Linked DNA regions of Homo sapiens: region 2 is linked to region 1. Evidence: promoter capture Hi-C in 16 types of primary human blood cells and fetal thymus (Javierre and others, 2016). All regions are on one chromosome and are shown on one strand. The core of a region is centred on a gene start or on the middle of the fragment in contact, and the rest is flanking DNA. Distances in the headings are between cores, read along the strand shown. Region 1 holds the start of ZNF551 (zinc finger protein 551). Region 2 overlaps ZNF274 (zinc finger protein 274).

The links. Contacts are between HindIII fragments. The CHiCAGO score rates a contact against its expected background, and 5 or more counts as called.
Region 2: a fragment that was not itself captured here is called in contact with the fragment with the promoter of ZNF551 in region 1 in 1 of 17 cell types (total CD8 T cells); the score reaches 5.0 in total CD8 T cells.

The regions. Positions count from the first base shown.
Region 1 is chr19:57,679,571-57,684,014 of GRCh38, forward strand. ZNF551 (zinc finger protein 551) reads left to right here and starts at 2,407. Exons shown (of 3, transcript NM_138347.5): 1 at 2,407-2,674. The coding sequence starts at 2,594. RefSeq lists an enhancer at 2,099-2,722 and a silencer at 2,778-2,847. The HindIII fragment of the contact is 7,295 bases long and covers 100-4,444 here.
Region 2 is chr19:58,199,934-58,204,097 of GRCh38, forward strand. All of the region lies in intron 4 of ZNF274 (zinc finger protein 274), which reads left to right. Among named protein-coding and RNA genes, the nearest start is that of ZNF274, 19 kb to the left of the region's middle. The HindIII fragment of the contact is 4,047 bases long and covers 1-3,840 here.

The DNA of each region.
Region 1 (4,444 bases), core at 1,157-3,656:
AGGGAATGGAGTGAAAGTTCAAAATTTAGTACAAAAAATAAAACCCCACCCTAACATCTATATCCAGCAATGTTATCTTTCAAAGGTGGAGGAGAATAAAGCTTTTCTCACACAAATACTAAAGAATTCATCCCCAAAGGTCCTGTTACAGGGTCCCTGCATTACATGTGAAGCAATCCAGTAGTTATTTGAAGGTCGAATTAGATTAAAGATGTTTAGGCTGGGCACAGTGTCTCATGCCTGTAATCCCAGCACTTTGTCAGGCTGAGGCGGGCAGATCACTTGAGTCCAGGAGTTTGAGACCAGCCTGAGCACCAAGGCAAAACCTCATCTGTACAAAAAATACAAAAAAACAATTAGCTAGGTTTGGCGACATGCGCCTGTAATCCCAGCTATTTGGGAGGCTGAGATGAGAGGATCACTTGAACCTGGGAGGCAGAGGTTGCAGTGAGCTGAGAACAGACCACCGCACTCCAGCCTGGGTGACAGGCTCAAAAAAATTTTAAAAAGATGTTTATTGTAACTTCTAAGGGAGGAATTAATATTTTTTTTTTTTTTTGCTGGCAACTTTGATTAATTTAAACATACAAAAATTAGCTGGGCATGGTGGTGTATGCTTGTAACCCCAGCTACTCAGGAGGCTGAGGCAGGAGAATCGCTTGAACCCGGGAGGCAGAGGTTGCAGTGAGCTGAGATCGCGCCACTGCACTCCACCCTGGGAGACAGAGCAAGACACTGTCTCAAGAACAAAAACAAAAAAGCCCAGGCGCAGTGGCTCACCTGAGGTCAGGAGTTCAAGACCAGCCTGGCCAACATGGTAAAACCCTCGCTCTACTGAAAATACAGAAATTAGCCGGGCATGGTGCTGGCGCCTGTAGTGCCAGCCACTTGGGAGGCTGAGGCAGAAGAATTGCTTGAACCTGGGAGGTGGAACTTGTGGTGAGCCAAGATCAAGCCATTGCACTCTAGCCTGGGCAACAGAGTGAGACTCCGTCTGGGAAAAAAAAAAAAAAAAAGAACTGATAAACAAATTCACCTGTGTAGCTGAATTCAAAGTCAACATGCAAAAGTCAACATGTAAAACTCATATGCCCTTCCATACACTAACAATGAAAAATCTGAAAAGGAAATTAAGAAAACAATATCATTTGCAATAGTAATGTATATGGTCAAATGATCTCAACAAGGCTACCAAGACCACTCAATGGGGAAACGATGATCTTTTCAGCAAATGATGCTGGGAAAATGAAATATTCACATGCTAAGGAATGAAGGTGAACCCTTACCTAACACCAAAAACACAAATGAACTCAAAATGGACTAAAAACCTAAACATAAGACCCAAAACTATAAAACACTTAAAAGAAAATATAGGGTGAAAGTTTTATGACATTGAATTTGGCCATAATTTCTTGGATTTGACACCAAATACACATGTGACAAAAGAAAAATAGACCAATTAGACTTCATGAAAATTAAAACTTTAGTATATCAAACAATAACAAAGTGAAAGAGGAACCTATTTAATGAGAACAAAATACAGGTTGAATATCCCTGAGCCAAAAATCTAAAATCCAAAATGCTCCAAAATCCAAATTTTTTTTTTCTTTTTTTTTTTTTGGAGACGGAGTCTCCCCCTGTCGCCCAGGCTGGAGTGCAATGGCGTGATCTCGACTCACTGCAACCTCTGCCTCCCAGGTTCAAACGATTCTCCTGCCTCAGCCTCCCAAGTACTGGGATTACAGGCGCTCGCCACCATGCCCGGCTAATTTTTGTATTTTTAGTAGAGACAGGGTTTCACCATGTTGGCCAGGCTGGTCTCGAACTCCTGATCGCGTGATCCACCCACCTTGGCCTCCCAAAGTGCTGGGATTACAGGCGTGAACCACTGCGCCCGGCCCGCCCGACTAATTTTTGTATTTTTAGTAGAGATGGGGTTCCGCCATGTTGGCCAGCCTGGTCTCGAACTTCTGACCTCAGGTGATCCGCCCGCCTCGGCCTTCTAAAGTGCTGGGATTACAGGCGTGAGCCACCGCGCCCAACCCCCTGAAATAATATTTGTTTGCCTCTAGGGGCACCCTGAGCTTCGTGGAGTCTGAAATAATGTCTCTAAACACTTAAGTGATCAGTTACGGAAAACACTTCCCAGAAATCTGGGAAAAGCCCCTTTAAGAAGGAGTAAATACCTCCTTCTCCCCTAGAGGCCGAAGTCGCCATTTCCCTGCACGGGGCACAGCACCTCAGAATACAAGTTCGCAGAGGTCAAAGCAGTGGACACACTCCGAAGAGCTCCGTGGAGTTTTGGAAACTACATTATCCAGAGTGCAGAGCGCAAAACGGCGGCGGAGTTGAGCCAATGACAGCCCAGGATAGCAACACTTCCGCGCACGCGCAGCGCGACGGGCCGGAACTTCCGGCGTCCTCCTCGTGGCGGTCATTTTGGCCTCTGTCCTGTTTGTCCAGCCCGCCAGTTTCTGCAGTGGAGGTCGCGACTGAGGGACGGGACAGAGAAGTCGCGAAAGTGGGCCAGAGGTTCTGCGACACCACCTCGGGTGAGCTGCGCCAGGCCCGGGATAGGGACTGTTGTGTTCGAATGCCCGCCCCGGTCGGCCGCCGCTCCCCGCCTAGTCCACGGAGCTCAATGGCGGCAGTCGCGCTGAGGGACTCGGCTCAGGTGAGTTGTGCGTCCTCCGGGTCTCGCCTACCTCCCCCAGCAGAAGCCTTAAGGCCCAGTGAGGGATGCCTGCTCACAGCCCTGCAGCCCAGGCCCCAGTACCCTGGACAAGAAGGCGCTTGTGGATTGGACCCGTTTGTGACGCCCAGTGTGTACGGAAATGTGACGGGCAGTTGACTGGCGCGTGCAGAACTTGGAGCTGCGACTAAGCTGGGGGGGATTCAGGAGCCTGGGGTCCGTCTCGGGTCTGCAGGAACATAGAGTGAGGCAGAGTTGCACCTGACGAATTTGACGATTCTGAGGACACTGGCAGCCTTCGAGATTTGTGAACAGATAGGGACACTGGGCTAGGATTTCCTAAAGCTATCCAAAAGTTGCTCAGGGGAAGAACAGGCTGAAGAGAGGTAATAGTAGTTAGGCATAGGAAGACTGAGTTCTTGTCCAAGCTCACGCAGCTGGTAAAGTCAGCACTGAGAACTGAGGTGCGGAGATAGTGCAGCCAGCCCAGGCCACCTGGCTCCAAAACTGGACCAGGGTCATTGGGCGACCTGAGCCTCGCCACTCGTCTAGCCTTGGGCCCTGAGACTTTGAGCAAATACAAAGCCCAGAGTCTTAAGTCCAGGTTAGATTATATGAAGCTGTTGGCAGCCGGGGGAAAGGAGATGTAGAAGGTTGTCCAAGGCAAAGTTACCAGTATATGCTAAGTTTGGAGAGGAGGCTAAGATAGTTCAGGAACCTACAATTATTTTCTTTTCATGAGAACAGGGAGCAGTGTAGTAGAAGTCAGACCCGGAATGGTTCCCTGAGAAGTTGAGTTGTCTATTCGTTACTTAATAGTAACAGTGGGAGGTTTGGAGTGGAAGAGGGAGGTGATCTGGTTCTGGTCTTATTAGGCTCCCTGTGGCTGCAGCATGGGAAGCCAACTGAAGGATGAGGTGGGGAGACCTGGGAGGAGACTACTGGGATAGGCCAGGTGAATGTGATAGAATGTGATAGGCCAAAATGGTGGCTGTGAAGATGCGAGAAGCAGTTGGATTCTGGATTCATTTTTTAAGTAGGGCTGCCTGAATTTTTAGTTTTGAGAAAGAGAGTGGAGTCAGGGATGACTGAAAGGTTTTATTTTGGCAGTTAGAAGTGTGGAAGCTCCATCAACTAAGATGGGGAAGTACATAGTAGGAGTAGTTTTCATTTGGGATATCAGAAGTTTTATTTTTGACCTGCTAAGAGTATGAGAGCTTTCAGAGAATGGTTCATGGGCTGCTGGAACTGTAGGTCAGGAACAGTGAGGAGAGATTCAGAATGGAGACTTTTCCAAAAGGTAGTGGACAATCTGTGGGCCGGGGTGGAGCTGTGGATCACATTTAGTAGAGGGGAAGCCTGCTCACAATGATAATAATAGTTGTCAAGGAAGGGGAGGGGAAGGTCAAGGACAGGTCTCCTGTGTGAGCCCCTGGTTGTGTGAGGTGTTGCAACACAGGTCTTGGACAGAAGTGTTCACGGTGAGGGTCGTACAGAGATTATGATCTAGCATGTGGCCAAGGCTTCTCAGGGGTGAGTAGACATGAGATGAATGTAGAGGCATAGGAGTTAGACAGGATGATGCTAGGACTGGTGCGTATTCACCTCTCTGCAGACTGACCAGGGTTTTATATTAACTCTTGGTGGGATCTGGGAAGTTTCAGTCAGGCTGTCACGTTATCTTAGGGGCATAATTGGCCATCTGTGGGACTCGATGGGCCCGGGGTAGAGAGCCACTGGGGTTGGACCTTG
Region 2 (4,164 bases), core at 567-3,066, 520 kb after region 1:
TTTTCCTGAGTCCTGAAGTCATTCTAGCCATCAACCTCTGGAGAAATGCTGCTGGGGCCATTTTACCATGGGACCAGAAATACAAGTCCCTGACATGGGCTTGGCTGAGAAGAAGCAAGTGGGGTGCAAACTATGTGTGCTTTCATGTTGCAAAGAAGCTGTGTTGAATCAACAAATATTACTTGAGCACTTGCCAGGATTCCAGGTACTGTTCCAGGGCTGGATCACAGTGATGAGTGGGGCAGGTCTTACACCTGCTTTCATTGGGCCTACATCCATTCCATGGCTGATTGGATCAACAAAAATGAAGTTGCCCATTCAGTACCTCAATTGCACTGGGCACCTTTCAACTGCTCATTGGCCCTGCAGCTAATGCTACTATGTTGGACAGTACAGATCTAGAACATCTCATTTATAGAAAGTTCCATTGGACAGCACTGCTCTAGATAGGGTGATAGACATGATAAATTAATGAATCAGATATTTGGGATGGTAATGAGTGTTGGAAAGAGAAGGAAACAATGGGATACATTGGTGGGGGACAAGCGAGGTACGGGTGGGCAGCAGTAGTTCAGAACTAAGTAGGAAGATGGTTCTGAGGAGGTGACGTTTGAGCTCAGACCTGAATGGGAAAGGCGAACCAGGTGAAGATGTTGGGGAAGGTGAACCAGGCGAAGATGTTGGGGAAGACTATACCAGGCAGGAGGGTGGTGCACATGTGGATCTCTGGATGAAAGGCCATATTCTAGGAAAACTAAGATGGTGGCTGTGGGAGACCCCTTTAGCGTCAAGGACATGAAATAACAGGGTTTGGAACCCGGCTCCTTTGTTGCCCACTATGTTAGGCCGTTCTTAAATTGCTGTAAATACCTGAGACTGGGTTATTTATGAAGATAAGAGATTTAATTGGCTCACAGTTCTGCAGGCTGTACAAGGGTGGCACTGGCATCTGGTTGGCTTCTGGGGAGGCCTCAGGGAGCTTTTTACTCATGGTGGAAGGCAGGGAGCAGGCACATCATGGGAAAAGCAGCAGCCAGAGAGAGGAAGAAGGTGCCGCATACTGTTGTTTGTTTGTTTTGTTTTTTTTTTTGGAGACACGGTCTCACTCTCACCTAGGCGGTAGTACAGTGGTGCGATCATGACCCACTGCAGCCTCGACTTCCTGAGTTCAAGCGATTCTCCCACCTCAGCTTCCTGAGTAGCCAGGACTACAGGCACATGCCGCTACGCCTGGCTAATTTTTTTTTTTTTTTTTTTTTGTGGAGATGGGGTTTTGCCATGTTGCCCAGGCCGGTCTAGAACTCCTGGGCTCAAGCGAACCACCTACCTCAGCCTCCCAAGGTGCTGGGATTACAGGCGTGAGCCATTCTGCCCGGCCACACTTTTTTAAACAACCAGATCTCGTGTGATTAACTTAACCACCAGGAGGATGGTGCTAAGCCATTCTTGAAGGTTCACCAGGCCCCACCTCCAACACAGCATCACTTTTCAACCTGAGATTTGGTAGGGACACAGAACCAAACCGGATCATCCACTCTGCAACCCTGGGCAGGGTTCCTAGCCTATCCCAGCATGAATTTCTTTTTTTTTTTTTTCTTTCTGAGATGGAGTCTTGCACTGTCGCCCAGGCTGGAGTGCAGTGGTGTGATCTTAGCTCACTGTAACCTCCACCTCCTGGGTTCAAGTGATTCTCCTGCCTCAGCCTCCCAGGTAGCTGGGACTACAGGTGCCCGCCACCTCGCCTAGCTAACTTTTGTGTTTTTAGTAGAGACGGGGTTTCACCATATTGGCCAGGCTGGTCTCAAACTCCTGACCTTGTGATCTGCCCACCTCGGCCTCCCAAAGTGCTGGGATTACAGGCATGAGTCACCGCACCAGGCATATTTCTTTTGTGTATGGTGTACATTTGCTTCCTGGGACTGTGGGCAGCCTTCGTGAAATGATGGTACTGTCATTGATTCAAAAACTGAGTAACGTAAAGATGATCAGCAGCCTTTGGCAGATCCTCTACTTAGGGGTGTGAGATCCACAAGTCCCAGTTGGCAGCCTCAGTGGTACACTGGAGGAGACAGATGCAGAAGGTAATCCAACAGGGAGCTTAGGGGCACTGAGGGAATGATGAGAGAGAACAGGAGAGCTGAGAGCTTTCCAGACAAGGAGGAAAAGTGATGGGGTACTGTGCCCAGGGATTAGGGGAGCTGAGGGTAAGTACTCTTCTGACTTTTCCCCCACAAGCTGCTAAAAAGATCATTGCTTTTCGTTATATTTTGGACTGGTATACCTGGCTAATCAGCATTCACTGGCAAACAGCACTGTGAGGAAGACAGCTGCCTAAGGCCTGTTTGTCACCCTGGAAGGGAAGCAGCAGAGAGGTAGAAGTATCCTGAGAGAAGAAAATAGTGTCAAGAGGGAGAAAGCAGCAGCTCCCATCAAGCCCTTACCACATGCTGTGCCTGGACTTTGGTATCTCATCACTTTGGGTGAAGAAACTCAGGCTCAAGAAGTTAATCTCTCTTGATTAAACCCCTTGCTTTGAGCCTCAGTGAATTTGTTTCACAACCCATTAGACAGACAGTTGTAGGTGAGGTGACTACATTGCTACGGGCTCATTCAGTTGCTGGACTGAAAGCCATTTGGAGCTCCAGCTGATAGGGATTATGCAGCTCCACATGAGTGGGTTGGGTCAGTCATGTCTGTGGAATGAGATGGGTGGAATGAGAATCCAGTTCCACCTCTGCCTGGTGGTGAACTTAAGAGCTTCCATTTTCTCCTCCATGAAGTGGAGCAGCTAATTTCCTGCAATAGACAGTGGTAAGGATTGCCCTAAAGGTCTTGGGATAGTCTATGGGTTGACATTTGGAGGACTGAGGTGCACAGAATGAGTCCATCACTTCCTCACCAGTTTCTGGGTTTGTGGTCTCTCTGTTCACTGTGGTGTCCTTGGTTCCACAGCATGCAAAAGGTGCTTTATGATAACTGTGTACAGAACAGAGTGTGGGGCCTCATGGGTTAATAATAAAGATTAAAGCAGAAGTAAGTACATTAGAAAGGGGTGGGGTGGAGTAGAAGAATCCAACAGTTGTTTTCCTAGGGGCCAAGGCATGAAAATCCCTCGATTAAGGAATACAAAAATGAAATTTTAGAAATTTATGAAGTAACGTTTAAGATGTTTAAGTGTCATGCATGGTTACCTAAAATAGTACTGGTGGCCCAGTGCTGGTCTGCCACTTAGCCCCCCCCCAGGAAGTACAGATTCAGTTGGTGCATGTCCCATGTCCTAGGCACTTAGTCCGGTGCTGCTGGGCCTCCAGTAAATCTTATCCCCAGCTGCTTCTCAGGAAAAATTCAAGCCTTAAGAGCTGTAATTGGGCTGGGCACGGTGGCTCACACCTGTAATCCCAGCACTTTGGGAGGCCGAGATGGACGGATCACCTGAGGTGAGGAGTTCGAGACCAGCCTGGCCAAGATGGCGAAACCCTGTCTCTACTAAAAATACAAAAATTAGCTGGGCCTGGCGGTGGGCGCCTGTAATCCCAGCTGCGGCTGAGGCAGGAGAATTGCTTGAACCCGGGAGGCGGAGGTTGCAGTGAGCCGAGATCCCTCCACTGCACTCTAGCGTGGGCGACTAAGAGCGAAACTCCGTCTCAAAAAAAAAAAAAAAAAGAAAAAAACGCTGTAATTGAAAGAAAATAAATGAAGTATGCTTTCAAATTAAGAAAAGTTACTTGGGGCGAAGTAAGTCCCCAGAAGTCCTAAGAAACAGAAAGGGAATTAAATACAGATCAGAGCACTTATAAATGAGTTGGAGAGGCCAAGCCCCCAAAATGAAAATACCTCAAAAGCTTATTTGGGGGAAGAGGTTGGAATTAGGTGCACAAGTGTGTCTGATTAATCTTATCAAGAAGAAAAATCACTTCAAGCGTAGACTGGTAATGGTCGAAAATTTAAAGCGTGGCTCAGGTCGTGATCTACAATTGCGCCACCTCGCTGGAAGGACGGCCTGGGCTGCGAGAAGGCAGCGCGGGCACTGGCTCTGGGCAGATCCCAGCGCGGAGCTGACTCCCTGGGCCCGTGCCAGCGGTGGGCACCTCCAGCCAAACCTGTGCAGCGCGCAAACGGGAAGCCCAGACAGACCAGGGTTTGTACTCGAGGAACGGGAGAGGG